2 separate regions of the Homo sapiens genome follow, and region 2 is linked to region 1. Evidence: promoter capture Hi-C in 16 types of primary human blood cells and fetal thymus (Javierre and others, 2016). All regions are on one chromosome and are shown on one strand. The core of a region is centred on a gene start or on the middle of the fragment in contact, and the rest is flanking DNA. Distances in the headings are between cores, read along the strand shown. Region 1 holds the start of COL1A1 (collagen type I alpha 1 chain). Region 2 overlaps PDK2 (pyruvate dehydrogenase kinase 2).

The links. Contacts are between HindIII fragments. The CHiCAGO score rates a contact against its expected background, and 5 or more counts as called.
Region 2: a fragment that was not itself captured here is called in contact with the fragment with the promoter of COL1A1 in region 1 in 3 of 17 cell types (M0 macrophages, M1 macrophages and M2 macrophages); the score reaches 7.7 in M0 macrophages.

What each region holds. Positions count from the first base shown.
Region 1 is chr17:50,200,381-50,207,790 of GRCh38, forward strand. It overlaps COL1A1 (collagen type I alpha 1 chain), which reads right to left and starts at 1,251. Exons shown (of 51, transcript NM_000088.4): 1 at 1,031-1,251. The coding sequence starts at 1,133. RefSeq lists a silencer at 466-515 and an enhancer at 5,344-5,845. The HindIII fragment of the contact is 2,253 bases long and covers 1-2,051 here.
Region 2 is chr17:50,108,578-50,115,175 of GRCh38, forward strand. It overlaps PDK2 (pyruvate dehydrogenase kinase 2), which reads left to right. Exons shown (of 11, transcript NM_002611.5): 9 at 35-142; 10 at 710-823; 11 at 1,380-3,575. The coding sequence ends at 1,520. SAMD14 (sterile alpha motif domain containing 14) reads right to left here. Exons shown (of 10, transcript NM_001257359.2): 8 at 5,610-5,729; 9 at 5,347-5,502; 10 at 1,463-4,471. The coding sequence ends at 4,316. Among named protein-coding and RNA genes, the nearest start is that of PDK2-AS1, 9.5 kb to the left of the region's middle. RefSeq lists enhancers at 3,220-3,905, 3,906-4,591, 5,517-6,112. The HindIII fragment of the contact is 8,208 bases long and covers 1-6,567 here.

The DNA of each region.
Region 1 (7,410 bases), core at 1-2,500:
CCCGCCCCCATTCCCTGGGCAGGTGGGGTGGCGGGGGCGGGGCTAGGAGAATGGGAGCGGCTGATTGGAAGGGAGGCCCCCCCAAGACTTGAAATGTACCTCAAAATTAGGAGACACCCTAACCTCCAGCACCTAGACATCTTAAAAGCCCGCTCTCGGGGCCATCCCCAGTCCCCCAAAGCCAGCCAATGCCTCCAGGTCACTTTTAGCCAAAGAACCAAAAAGTCCGCAAATAGTCCAGAAGTTAGCTAACCACTCCCACCGCGCTAGCGGCTCCCCAGACGGCCACTAGGTGTCGGGCAACGCTAAGCAATGGGGCCGGGGCGGGGCCGACCTCACCGGCCCGACTACCTCTTTAAGAGGCTTGGGCTGCCCCATCCCTGGCTTTACTTTCCAGATCTAGAGGTGGGGGTCCGCACCCAGCAATAACCCGGGTCTTCCCGCTCCGGCTCCTGCCCCAGTAAGCGTTGGACCGGGAGACGCAGTGCTCAGCATCGGTCAGCAGGGGGCGCAAGGACCCCGCCCCGCCGAGTCCGCGCCAAAGTTTCTCATCCTCCACCCGCCCACGCTCCGCACCCCCTCCGCGGCTGCCCAGCACCCCCACGGCCCCAGCAACACTCTAGCCCGCAGAGAGGGCAATCTTTCCTTATGAATCATCCCACGGCCTTCCTGATTGCTTCTACATCTTGGGCTTCAAATGCCCCGCTCGGCGCCCCCATCCCATCTTCGACGTGCTTTCCTCACTCTGCACCCAGATCCCCACTTCCCCGGTTGCGCGCTCGGGATTCTCTCTTGCACCAACTCACGCCGCGCTCCACCCTCACCTCCCGCTCCCGGGGCGCGTTCAACCCCAACCTCGCCCCAGGGTGAGCTCCCTCCTGTCTCAGGGCGCCGAGGAAGAGCCCTCATCATCTCCCTTCCATTCCCGAGTCTCCGGATCATCCACGTCTCGTTTTAAGCCGCGGCCCCCGGGACCAAGCGCAAGGCGCGATATAGAGTATCCTTGCACTCCCAAAAGTTTGGGACTTACTGTCTTCGTCTTGGCCCTCGACTTGGCCTTCCTCTTGGCCGTGCGTCAGGAGGGCGGTGGCCGCTAAGAGGAGCAGGAGCCGGAGGTCCACAAAGCTGAACATGTCTAGACCCTAGACATGTAGACTCTTTGTGGCTGGGGAGGGGGTTAGCGTCCGCTCATGCGTGGCCTCACACTCCGCGTGCCTCCTGCTCCGACCCCGAGGAGAAACTCCCGTCTGCTCCGACGACTGGCCCGGGCCCCTTTTATACTGTCCTGATGGAGAGCAGGGAGGAACCCTGCCCCTCGGAGAGGGGGAGCCGGCCGCCCGTGCCCCAGCCAATCAGAGCTGCCTGGCCCGGCCCCCAATTTGGGAGTTGGAATGGAGAGGGGGAGGAGGAGGGAAGGGAGTCCACCCCACATCTCCCCTCTTCGCAGCTCTGCCTCCCCAGCCCCCCAGCCCAGCCTGGGCCAGAGGTGCTGTGGTAGGGGTGCAGCTGGGTCCTCAGAATGGCGTGGGCTAACCAGTGGGTAGGGGTGCCCCTCTGCTCTCTTCCTGGGACCTCCAATCTAGAAGAAGTGGAACTGGGGAACTGGGGAGCTGGGTGGGGAGACTTCCAAAGGTGGAAGGGTTGGGGGTGTTGGGGAGGGGGTCCTCCTGGCTGTGCCCCAGTCACCCTCTGATATCCTGGCAAGAGCTAAGGGAGGGGCATAAAGAGGCATGCTGAGGACCTCTCCAAAACAGAGGAAGCTGGGAATTAAAAAGATGTGCCTGTTTGGGGGTGTCTTCTGGTGTGGCTAGGGGATGGAGCTTAGGAATATTTGGGGAACAATTTACAGATTCCTTTCTAGACATTAAGAATCAGATATCTGAGGGAGGGGTGCAGGCAAGGGAGTTTTAATTTTGAGGATGTCAATTCTTCTGCTGTGCTCCAGAACAGAATCAAATGCCTTCCTCCAAACCCTAGGCATGATTGAGAGATGGAGTGGGGAGGCTGAGGTGCAGGGTGAGAAACATGACTAGGTGGCCTCTGCAGAAGAAAGCTTTGGTGGTTGGGTGATGGAGCAGCCAAGGTAGGGGTGGGGGATTCTAGGGACACAGAGGTGGGGATTGGGGCTTGCAATCCCCTAAAAATTCATCCCCCAAACTCTTCCACCCCAGAGTTGGGAAGTATTTTTAGTGGGAGGCCTGTGATCATTGGTGACTTAGAGAAGAGTTTTGTTTGCCATGGCTGTGGCCAGGGGCTGCTTAGAGACCCTCCTTCCCAGCACAGTCAAACCAGAGAGAACCTGGGTGGAGGGAGGGCACTTAGCTAAAGGGGTGTCTTTCTGGGAGCTGCATAAAGCCCCTTCTCCAGTTGTACCTGGACTCAGTGTTGGGGATGTATGGGATATTTTGGGTGTCTGGGTGAAACTTTCCTTTGGGGGTGTGGGATGGGCTGCAGAGGATGATTGACTTTGTTTTAGGGGCTACTTCCCACTGCCTCATCTCTTTCTTGAAAATCCCGGTCATTGCTCTATGCCTTAGGAACCAGAGAGAATCATCTGTACACTCTGAAAGGGTCTGGGGACCCGAAGGACAGCAGGCTATATCTAAGGAAGATGGCTCTAGAACTCCACGTCCTTTCTTCCTCCATGTCCCATTCCCCCAACAAGGCTCTGCCTCAACCCCAATCTACCTCGTCCTGAGAAACTCTGTAGGGCTGAGAGAAGGCCTGGGGGTCTCCTTGCAGTGCCCTGTTCATTTCTCTCCCTCCTGTGCAGCTCCCCACCCCGGGTGCTCCAGAGCTGCAAACGTGGAAGCGGGGAGTCCCGCCTCCCCCAAACCATCCAAGATTCCATTGCCTCCCCCCGCCCCTCTCCACGCCCTCCCCCAGCTGGTTTTGTGCAACGAAGGCAAAGGGGAAAAAAAAGGAACAGAAGGGGAGGGAGCCACGTCGGCTGGCCGGCTGGCCGTGGGCAGCCAGGATGAGCGGTGCGGGTGGGGCAGCAGAGGGAGACTGCAGGGGCTATAATTAAAGGGAAAATATAGAGTTTCCAGAGAGGCAGGGCTGGAGACAGCAATGGAGGGATGGACCTTCATCAATTATCCCGACCATGTGGCAGCAACTTGTGGCCCAGGGTCTGCCCCCGCCTAGTGCCAGCGACTGCAGGGCAGGACTAGGGGGCTGAGGTGCTGAGATGGCAGTTCTTGAACCCACCAAAGTCCTGCCCCCTACTGTGGGTCAGTTCCAAGAGAACCCCTCCCTAATAGGCGACAGGGGTCCTGTTTTTGGAGGGAACAGACATTTAGAGTGGTGGTCTAGGGCAGGGTGCCGCAGGGCTTGGTAGTATGAGGGTTAGTGACCTGTCCACTTCCTTGCTTCTTGGGTTTTCGTAGTAAGAAGGGCTCCTGCCTGCAGCTCCCCGCCCCTCCCCATATGTTTCCCATCCAGGCTTTCCCACGCCCATCTTAAAGAAGAGTTGAAACCTCCAAGGTGTGAATTGGGGGTTGCTACATCATGGGCCTGGGGTTCTGAAGGATATTTGGGGATCCCTGGCTTTGGAGTTTTGTGTGCCTGGCGTGTGACAGCCACCACCCCAATGTCCAGTTCCAGGCCTTCCTCCCAGGGGCCGAGGCAGACAGTTTCCAAGCATCCTTTACACGTGGCATGGAGCTGAGGCTCAAGGCCTCCCCTGCCACTCTTCGACTTAAAACGCTTGGCGGGTGCCCAGGCTGAAGATGTGTCTTTAATTTCTGCAGTATGACAGTGAGAGGAAGAATGTGCTTGGGGTCTCCTCCCAGCCTGGCTGGGCCTTCCTGGCCAGGATTGAGGGCTGCAGACTGGGGGGATGGGGGGTGGGAGGAGGAGGGAGCTTGTGCCTGTGAGAGGAGGAGACGCCACCTCATCTTTAGGAAACTCTGAAGCTCTGGCTTCTTGTGGAATGTAAGACTTTGTCCGGCACTTAAAGTGGGGGGGAGCAAAAGCCAAAATCTCCTCCCCACACCCCCAAGAAATGGTAAAGTCATCAGCAGTTAGGGAAAAAAAATTCCTTAAGAAGAAAAACAGAAAGAGGAAAGTGCTGAGCTTGAGTTCTCTCCTTCTCCAAATTTCCCCAAGTGCCCCCCTCCAACACCAAAGAAGGAGGGAAAAGGCCCCCACCCTCAGAGCTCCTCAGGTGCCCCATCTGGACTCCATGGTATGGGACAAAGGAGGAGAACACACCTGGAAGAGGTAGCCCAGGTGTTGTGCACCTGGTGGGGGGCATGCACCCCTGCCCTGCACATCGGGGTCACCCTTTCCAGCTGCTGCAGCCCCCAGTTGAGGTTCTGTTGCTCTTCCCCCAACTCCAATTCTCCAGAACGCTTCTCTGCTCCCACCTCTAGCCCTAGACTGATGATAAAGAGGGGGTTCCTAGGAGAGGGTCTGAGGAGACAGAAGGGCGGGGTCTAAGAGTGGGGGTGCAGTGAAGACCCCAGGATGAAGCTCTCCATGAGTCTCTATCATGGAGCCCTGCACAGTTCCTGTTGAGGGAGCCTGGAGCAGAGTCTGGGGATAGACCCCGGGTGTGTGCAGGCCCTTCTTCTTCCCTCGCTTTAGCATTGCACAGTCGGAGCCCTTTGCTAGGTTCCTCAGCTTCCAGGTACAGCTCTGCTCTTCTATGCCTTAGCCCCAAACCCAAGTCCTCCAGCCTCCTAGGATTTCCCTCTCTCCCTTCCTCCCTCCTTCCTTCCTTTCCAGGGTTAGGGGGAAGATGATGAAGTAGGTTTTGTCCATGCTGAGTGTTTGAAGCCTGTGAGACATCCAATTAGAAATACGGAGGAAACCCTTGGGCACTTGGGTCAGGAGTTCAGAGGAGAGACAAATGTGGGTCCCAGGATGATGGTAACTGAAGCTGGGGTTGTGGATGGTGTTGTCTCAGAGAAAGCATGGAGGGAGGGAGTGTGGAGGGGCTGGCACTGAGCCTCGGGGACCCTCAGGGTGTAAGGGCTGGGTGGAGGAGGAGGAGATAGGGCAAGAGTGGCCAGAGAAGGAGGGCTGGGTGAGAGGGATTGGGGGGTCATGAGTGCAGAGGAAAGAGATGGTACTAGAAGGAAGGAGAGTTATATGCTGCAGAGAGAACTAGTATGGTAAGGAGTAAAATGTTCCCTGGACTTAGCAGAATGGTGGTGACTGATCCCCGCAGCGTGAGCTGCTGTGGTGGAGAGATGGACAAGGAAGCCGGACTGGAGTGGGCTAAGGAGTGTGTGGGAGGCCAGGAAGCAAGGTCAGAGGGCAGCGACTGGGAGGAGGAGTCTGGCTGTGGCAGGAGTCTAGAGAGGCATCTGTCCCCTGCTCTTTCTCTTTCTTCCCAGCCCGGATCCTGCGTTCCTTTCAGGCCCCTGCATCCCTCCTCTGTCTTCCAAGTTTCTTCGCTGCTTTCTCCATCCCCCTCTGTCTCCAGAGCTCCTTTTCTGGATCTCATTTGCCTCTTTTGCTCTCCTTCCCCCTTTCCTTTTCTTTCCAGGTGACCCGAGCCCTCAAATGTCCATAGCCAGGCCCAGCCTCCCCCTCATTCTCCCCTAGAACAAGCCCTCATTCCAGGCTCTTGAAGATGAACTTTGTTTTCTAGTCCTGGACGGATCCCACCCCATTCTCTGACCGCTGCCTCCACCACCCCCACCCCAGTCCTAGGAGGAGAACTTGGGAGCTGGAGAGAGAAGGGCTGGGGGTATGGCCCCAGGTGACACGAGGTCTGTCATGGCCCCAGCTCCCAAGCCCTCTCCAGCCACCCCACCAGGTCCCAGCCAGGCCCCAGCTGAGAATAATGCACTGGATGGGGGATGTTGTTGAGTTAGGGGACCCCAGTTCTCACTGCTGCTCTCTGGTAGTCAGAAGTGAGGGGTCAGCCCCATCTTTCCTGCTGGAGTGAGCTCCCAGCTGGGTAGCTGGCAGCTTTTCTGTCATATCCCTCCCTGCTCCTGATGTCTGGAGGCAGTGTAGTTCTTCTTAAAAGTTGGCTTGGCAGGGCGCGGTGGCTCACACCTGTAATCCCAACATTTTGGGAGGCTGAGGCAGTCGGATCACCTGAGGTCGAGAGTTTGAGACCCCAGCCTAGCCAACATGGTGAAACTCCATCTCTACTAAAAATACAAAAATTAGCCCGGCATGGCGGCATGGGCCTGTAGTACCAGCTACTTGGGAGGCTGAGGCAGGAGAATCACTTGAACCCAGGAGGCGGGGGTTGCAGTGAACCGAGATCACACCATTGCACTCCAGCCTGGGCAAAAAAGCGAAACTCTCTCTCTCAAAAAAAAAAAAAGAAAGAAAGAAAGAAAGAGAAAAGAAAAAAAAAAGAGAAAGTTGGCCCCATGAATTGATTGAATATTTACACCTTTCTGGGTTGGTTCAATTCCGTGCCTATTTTATCCCATTTGCTTTTCTCCATTCCTTTCTTCCTTTCTTTCTTCTATTCATTTACCTTTTCTCTCCCCCACCCCCAACCTCTCTCCCTTCAAATTTTTCTCTTCATGCGTTTTTCTTCCTTTTCTTAGTTTTTTTTTTCCTTTCCTTTTCTTTCCTCGGTCTCTGACCCGTTGTCCCACCTCTCCACCCACATACTTTTTTCCCCCTCCCTCTTTTCCTCTCTTATTCTCTTCCGGTATCTCCTCTTCCCCAGTCCCCGGTTCTCTGGTGCCCATCCTGGGGTATGGCGCTCTGCCGGGTCTCCTCATGCTGTAGGCGGGCGTGCAGCCTTCGTGAGCTGCTCCAGGGGAGAAAGGGCAGCAGCCATAGGGGGCGTGGCCGGGGGGCGGGTGGTGCAGGGCTCGCATCACAGCCAGATGTCTGGTTGCCGTGTTGTGTTTGGGAGATAAATGCCAGGGTTCCTTTGAATCCTGAATTTAAATAAAAGAAGGGGGGTGCTGAGGAGAAGCCTCTGTTGGGCAGAGGTACCTTCCAGATCTTGATCTCCTTCCTTGATACCCACCCCCCACAACCCCCACCCCAGGGAAGTTTTGGCCACCGATGTCTTCTGTCTTCTGCTTCTGCCCCAGCCACGAGTTCTTCCTCCTGGCAAACTTGAGATTCTGGAGTTTCAGGGCGGGGTGTTGGGCAGGGGTCCTGGCAGGGGCCCCTTTGGACAGTCTGGCTCGGACACAGAAAGGATCCTGTATGGATAACATGACCTTGCCTTCTTCCCAAAAGCCACCCCCACCCCATTTTGCTAAGGAGCTACATTCATTTGCTGATAAATTCATGCAACAATAGTCACGTGCCAGGCACTTTGCTGGGTACTGGGCATTCAATGGTGAGCAGCACAGACCCTGTGTCTGCCTGATGGAGTTTGTGTCTGGTAAAGACACAGACAGCAATGAAATCACATGAATAAACGTGGAGGTGCAACCATTAAGGTTACTAAGAAGAAGAATGCAGAGCTTT
Region 2 (6,598 bases), core at 1,214-3,713, 91 kb before region 1:
GTAAAGAATCCCTGACACATCCCATCTCTCCCAGATGAGTGACCGAGGTGGGGGTGTTCCCTTGAGGAAGATTGAGCGACTCTTCAGCTACATGTACTCCACAGCACCCACCCCCCAGCCTGGCACCGGGGGAACGCCGCTGGTGAGATGGCTTCACCCCAGCCCCTCCCACCTCCTGAGGGAGGCTTCTCTCCTCACTCACTTCCTTATCTCCCTGCTCACTCAGCTTCTGTGTGGCCGTCTGTGACAGTCACCTGTCTTGAATCTGGGCCCCCGCACCTCCCACATCTCCCCAGTCTGCACAGATCTCACCTGTCGGATGTCTCTCTGTCACCTTTCCTCCATCTTCCCTCTCTTCTGTAGCTCCCAAACCCCCAATTTCTACCTTTCTCCTGGTGTTGTCCAACTTGTCAGCACCTCCCTGTTAGAAAACTTGAGACTCAAAGGAGCCGTGGGGCCTGCTCTGACTTCCTGGCCCCTGAGCGGAACTCCTCTCTCTGCCCAAGCCTCCCTCCCGCATTCATGATTGCCCCATTCACCCCACACACACTTCTTACCTCAGTGTCCCCTCCCACATGTCCCCTCCCAGCTCTGGGACCCCTGCCATGTGACCCCAGCTCCACACCCTTCCCTCCCTGCATCAGTCCCTGCAGCTCCAGGAGGCCCCTGCCAGCCTCCTCATCCTCACTGCCTTCCTGCCCCGCTGCAGGCTGGCTTTGGTTATGGGCTCCCCATTTCCCGCCTCTACGCCAAGTACTTCCAGGGAGACCTGCAGCTCTTCTCCATGGAAGGCTTTGGGACCGATGCTGTCATCTATCTCAAGGTGAGGGCCCTTCCCGCAGAGCCCAGCTGGAGAAGAGCTTTGCTGATAGGACCTGGGCAGCCTTGGCCAGCTGCGAGCTTTCCTTTCCATCCCCCCAGTCCTTCCCTGGCCCCAGACTCTGAGAATCCAAGCAAAGCTACAGTTCCTCAACCTGAAGAACCCTCAACCCCCAGACACGCACTGCTTGTCAGGGAATTTAGGGGAGTCTGTGGTCTATGATTAAGACCCCTGTGCTGGGAACCCTTGACTTGTTAGACCCAGAAGGAAGGGGACACCCTAGGTCTTGCCATTCAGTTCAGAGGAGAAGACTGAGGCCCGGAGTCCGTGACTTGCTCAGGGTCACACAGCCCAGCCTCCTCCCCCTCCCTCTCCCTCCCTTAGAGGGAGCTGCTTGCTTGAATGGGCAGGAGCGGGACACAGGAGGGACCACCCTTTTGTGGTCTTTCCAGGCCCCCGTGTCTGGCAGCTGGGCTGCCGCTGAGCTGGGGTGGGGTGGTCTGCTGAGGAGTGGACAAGGCACAGGGAGGTGGGAGGGGCTGACCCTGACACTCCCCAGGCCCTGTCCACGGACTCGGTGGAGCGCCTGCCTGTCTACAACAAGTCAGCCTGGCGCCACTACCAGACCATCCAGGAGGCCGGCGACTGGTGTGTGCCCAGCACGGAGCCCAAGAACACGTCCACGTACCGCGTCAGCTAAGGGCCGCCGTGCATCTGCACCTGAGAGGACGGACTGCCGCCTCTGGGTCCCCCCACCGTGGTGCCCCTCACCATCCTCCTGGGGGAGCAGGGGGTGGGTTCTCCCTGATGACCAGGTTCTGTCTCTATGGAAGTCACTGCGGTGATAGGTCTGTGATGGTCCCTAAGTGCCAGTCCATCTCTGTGGAGACCCCTCGGTGGCCTCCCTATCTCTGTGGGCGATGCCTGAGGGTTAGGGATGTCTCCACCCTGATGGGGTGTCCCAGAGACATTTTCCCATGGCAGTCCTCCTCTCTGAGACCAGGGCTGTCACTTTTCTGCCAGGGGTACTGGGTCCCCCTCAGCACCCTCCACAGCACAGGCCTTCCAAGTGGATGTCCCGTTGCCTTATTCCCCCAGCCCACAAAGGCACCCTGGCCTTGGCCTGCTGAAGTGTTAGGAAGAGGGTGGGTGCCCTCCAGACCTGGGGACTGAGTGGGGAAAGGAGTTACACCCGTGAGTGGGGAATGAGGCTGGTCCTGCAGCCTCTCCCTCCGCTCAGGGCTTGAAGGTCGGTGGCGGAGGGGGTGGCTCTCACAGGGCCCAACTCTAAAGTGGAAGAACCTTGTTAGACCGAGAGCTTGCCATCCAGCCAAGCTGCTCGAGGCCCTGCAGTGGCCTTGGCAATGTCTGTGCCACCTCCTGAGCCCTCCCAGCATGTCCTCACATGCTCATGCCCACCCGCTCCTCCACAAGCCTAGTCCATCCTGCCTGAGCTCCAGCCCCCAGCCCCCACTGTGCCCAGACATGTGTGCTCAGGGTGGCTTTCTCCCTAGGACCTTCTGTGTATATAGTTAGTTTTATAACCCTGAATGCCCCCACCCTTCCCCTAAGCACACAGGGGTTAAAGCTGTGTGTCCCTCCCAGTGGCTGTGGCAGTGACAGTGACACCCACACCCACAGTAAAGAGGAGACTGAATGAGACTGGCCTGGCTGCATCCCTGGGGGAGGGGACCCACACGTGCGCACGTACACACGCACACTGCGGTGCCCTGTGACCACCACATGACGCACCGGGGACGTCCGGCCCAGCTCAGGACTGTGAGTAAAACACTGGGCAAAGCCATCTGTTCAGAACGCCGGATGGCCCAGCACCTGGTGACAGACCTGTTGTCCCACCATACTCAGGGCCCAGCAGAGTCCGGCCAACCCAACAACTGGAGCAGACAGAAATTCTGGTCACTGGCACATCATAAGGATTTATTGAAATAAATTGAGAACTGCCTCCCCTTCACATGCAGGTGGGCACCCACTATAGCTACTGATGGCTTTAAGGATGTGGGTGCCTTCCAACCTCCCATGGCCCTGCCACCAGGCCCAGATGGTGCCAGTGTCCTCATATCTGTTTCCCTCCGAAGCCCCTCTCCCAGCACAGATAGCAGAGGGGGGATAAGGGCTGAGTCCCAGGTACAGGGTGCTGGCCGTAAGCCACAGCCCCTGGGCAGGAATGAGGGAGCCAGCATGCATTGGTGCCATCTGCCGCTCTGTCTGGGCAGATGGGAGGAGCTGGAGGGGTTTCCAAGCGGGAGCCCCCAGGCCTCATCGGTAACTCTGACCAGTGTCCTGGAAGCGGGACTAGCTGCTGACCAGCGCCACACATGAACACTTCCTCCAAGGACATTTCCTAAAAAGGACACATGCTGTCCCCAGGCTGCTGGTAAACTCCACCCCCATCCAGGGAGCTGGCCCCAGCCCTCAGTGTGGCCCAGGGAAGCAGAGCTTGCACCGCCTGCCAGTTCTGAGCCCACTGATTCCCTGACAATGCCTGGGGCAGATGGGGGAGGGCTGATGAACCTTTCCAATCTCGTAGCTGCCGGGGACCCCCAGGTTTTGCCTCTCTGCCTGGCTGGGGTGAGGGCTGACCAGGTCAGCAGCTCCTAGGCCTTGGCTGGTGGAAGTGGTGTCCTCTGTCCCTATCAGTTCCTGTTTGCTCAGCTCCCAAAGAGGACTTAGGTGCCCTCTGAGGAAGCAGCAGGAAGTGAAGGGAGTCCTGGCTTGGAGAATGGGTCAAAGACCAGGTCTTGAATGGGCCCTGAGAGGCAGACCTGTGTGGTGTCATCTCGCCCCCTGGGACCCACAGGACAGAGGAGGGGAGAGGGAGAAGGGGATGTTCATCCTCCCCTCTTGAGTCCTGGCAAAGACTGCACTCGCCCCAGGCTGCTTTCTCTGCGCTCCTGTTGAGGAGTTTGGCTGGGAGTCTACCCTGAGTGCGACTTGCTGCAGCGCCCACTGGCCTCTTGGGGGAGCAGGACAGAGCTCTCCCACCACACAGCCCCCTGGAAGAGTGGAGAGGAGCCGCTCCCACATGGGCTCCTGCTGAAATGCCCAGCCCAGCTCTGAGCCCTGGGGCCCGGCCTCAGGGCCTCTGGCAGGCAAGCAGGCAGGCAGGCCTCCTAGCTCCCCTCCACCCCAGCCCCACGATGGCCTGAGGGCAATGGGACAGCCTGACCCAGCCTCCCAGACTTGCCTCAGCCCTGGCCTCTCTGCCCTCTCCCCTTCATCTGCTCCTCCCCCAGGAACTCTGTGCCAAACAAGTCCTCAAAATAGGATTTATTACTAGGCCCTCTCCCTGGGGTCTCCCTTTCTGGGGTCTCTGGGTCTAGACCAAGTGACAGGGTAAGAGAGAGCATGTCCCCCCTGAGAGCGTGGGACCAGGCTAGCCCAAGTGCAGCGCCCAGGTCCAGCCTCCCTGGTGAGGCCTGTGCCCGCGGAGCCAGTGGCTGCCCCTGCCGGGTGCCAGCGCCTGTGCACCCTCCCCTAGCTCTTCTTGGCCTCCTGCTCTCGGCGCCGGAGCTTCTCCCGCTGCCGCGCAGCCTTCTCCTGGGCCTTGCGCTCCTTCTCGGCAGCTGCTGCCATCTCCTTCAACTTGCGCTTCACCAGTGCCCGGTCATGAGAGTTGCTGAGCCCCAGGCTCTGGGGAGGAGTCCGGGGTGAGGGAGAGAGTCCCAGAACCTTCCCAGTCCTGGCCTCCCACGCCCAGGCTCCTTTTGCCCCAGGTGTACTCTGTGGAGCTCCAAATCCTCCCTGGAGTGGAGCCTCCGCCTCCCACACCGTGACCTGCCCATGGATCAGAACCCCCAGAGCAAGAATTTGGAATGAGTGTGGTTGGGAAAGATGAGGGTTGGGGGTATTAGGCGCTTCCTCCTCCTCCCCCACCATTCCTCCACTCAGTATTTCAGCCTTGGCCCGGACCTGCCCAACCTCCTGAGGCCCAGAGATGGGGAGTCACTTGCCCAAGGTCACACAGTTAGTGCCCAAGGACCCTCCTCACTTCCAGAGACTTCCTGGGGGCTCTTTTCACCATCCCTGCCCCAAGCAACTCAGCAGAGAGCAGGAGACAGGCCAGGAACCTCCCAGCTTATAGGTCAGAGGCCACCACCCCCTTCCTACAGCCTCCCCCTGCCCACTATTACCACTAGCCTCTGAGACAGAATCAGACCAAGCTGACCAGGGGGAGATGTGGCTTCCCATGATACCAGGACACTCATATGCATCAAGGGTCATCCTAGAGGGCAAGGTCAGCCTGGAGACCAGGGCTGGAGCTTGAAGGTCACACTGAAGTCATGGACTAGAGTTTCAAGTCAAACTAGGGATTCATGCTACAACTCAAAAGATTAGACCAAGGACCTTGCCTAGAGGTCAGAGGTCAGGGTGGTGGCCACAGATGGAGTGAAAAGGTCAGCCCAGGAGGCTGGGCTGAGGGTCAAAGGTCAGGATGAGGGACTTCAAATCCTTGAAAGTCACCTCAAGTAACTGGGCTGGGTCATGGCCCTTCCACTCTGACCCACCTTTAGTTTGCTTCCGTCCAGCTGCAGCAGCTGCGGCCCGTCTACCTGCCGTGCAGCAAACTCAGCAGCATACTGTTCCAGGTTGAGGCTCTGCAGCCACTGGCCCACCTGCTGGCTGGTCCAGTGGTGGACAGGGGGGAGGGGTTCATCCAGGAACTGGGCAGAGACCAAGGAGAGTGAGGGGGAGGCTTGGCCTGTGACCTGAGCACCTTGCAGAGTCAGAGGTCAGGACTCCGTGGGCACCCTGGGCCAGCCTTGCTCACCTCATCTGAAGACTGAGACAGCGTGTGGTAGGGGTAAGAACATTTGGCCTCCTGCCAGGGCCCACTGGGGATCTTGGGGCTGCTGCTGGGGGGCGTGGAGTCATCACTCAGAGTGGATTCCTAGACAGAAAAAGGTGCATGCCACTGAGGAGAGTTCACCCCCAACCCACCATCCCTATCTGGGTGGAGCCGAAGTCCTGGACTAGGCACCAGGAGTTGCTCAGTGCCTCCTGTGCATGAGCCAGGAGCTGGGCCTGCACACAGGACATGATAACTCATGTCAGGCATCAGGACCTGAAGCCTTTGGGAGAGCAGGCAGCCATCTGGAGGACATGGGGCTAGAACCAAGCCAGGTTAGTAGGAATGGAGGCGGTCTCAGGCAAGGTGTCACTTCCTACAGGCAGACCACCGAGATTCCCCCAGGCTGGGTCAGGTGTCTCTGCTATGCGCCTCCCGCCTGGCCTTAGTACCCCAGCTAATAAGTGCCTGATTAGAGGTCTTTATCCTCACTGGACTGTGAGCTCTAGGAGGGCCTGGGTTGTATCTTGTTCATCATGGTGTCCCAGTGACCAGCATAAGGGAAGGAAGAAAGAGAAGGAGGAAAGAAGGAAGTTCCAGGTCCGAAGGGATTCTTTCTTCCCAGAATTCCCAGCTTCTGATTTTCTCCTCTGCCCAGCTGCACGTAAGAAACAGAACCGTAGAACAAGTACTGGGCTGGGGGTTGTAGAGCTTGGCACCTATATCTGTGCCAGTCTGTGGGCAAGCCCCTTCTCTCTGGGCCTTCCTTTGCTCATCTGTACAATGGAGATGAGCATGCCTTCCCTCCCTACTTCACCGAGCCTTTGTGAGAGTAAAGCAGAAACGCATTTGGGGCTTTGTAAACTGTAGAGGGCGCTCTGAACATAAGCAGTTGCTCATCATTGCTTCTCTTACTCGTCTCACATCACATAGGGTTGTAAGCTTTCAGACCACTAGGTTGGGGTCCTGTT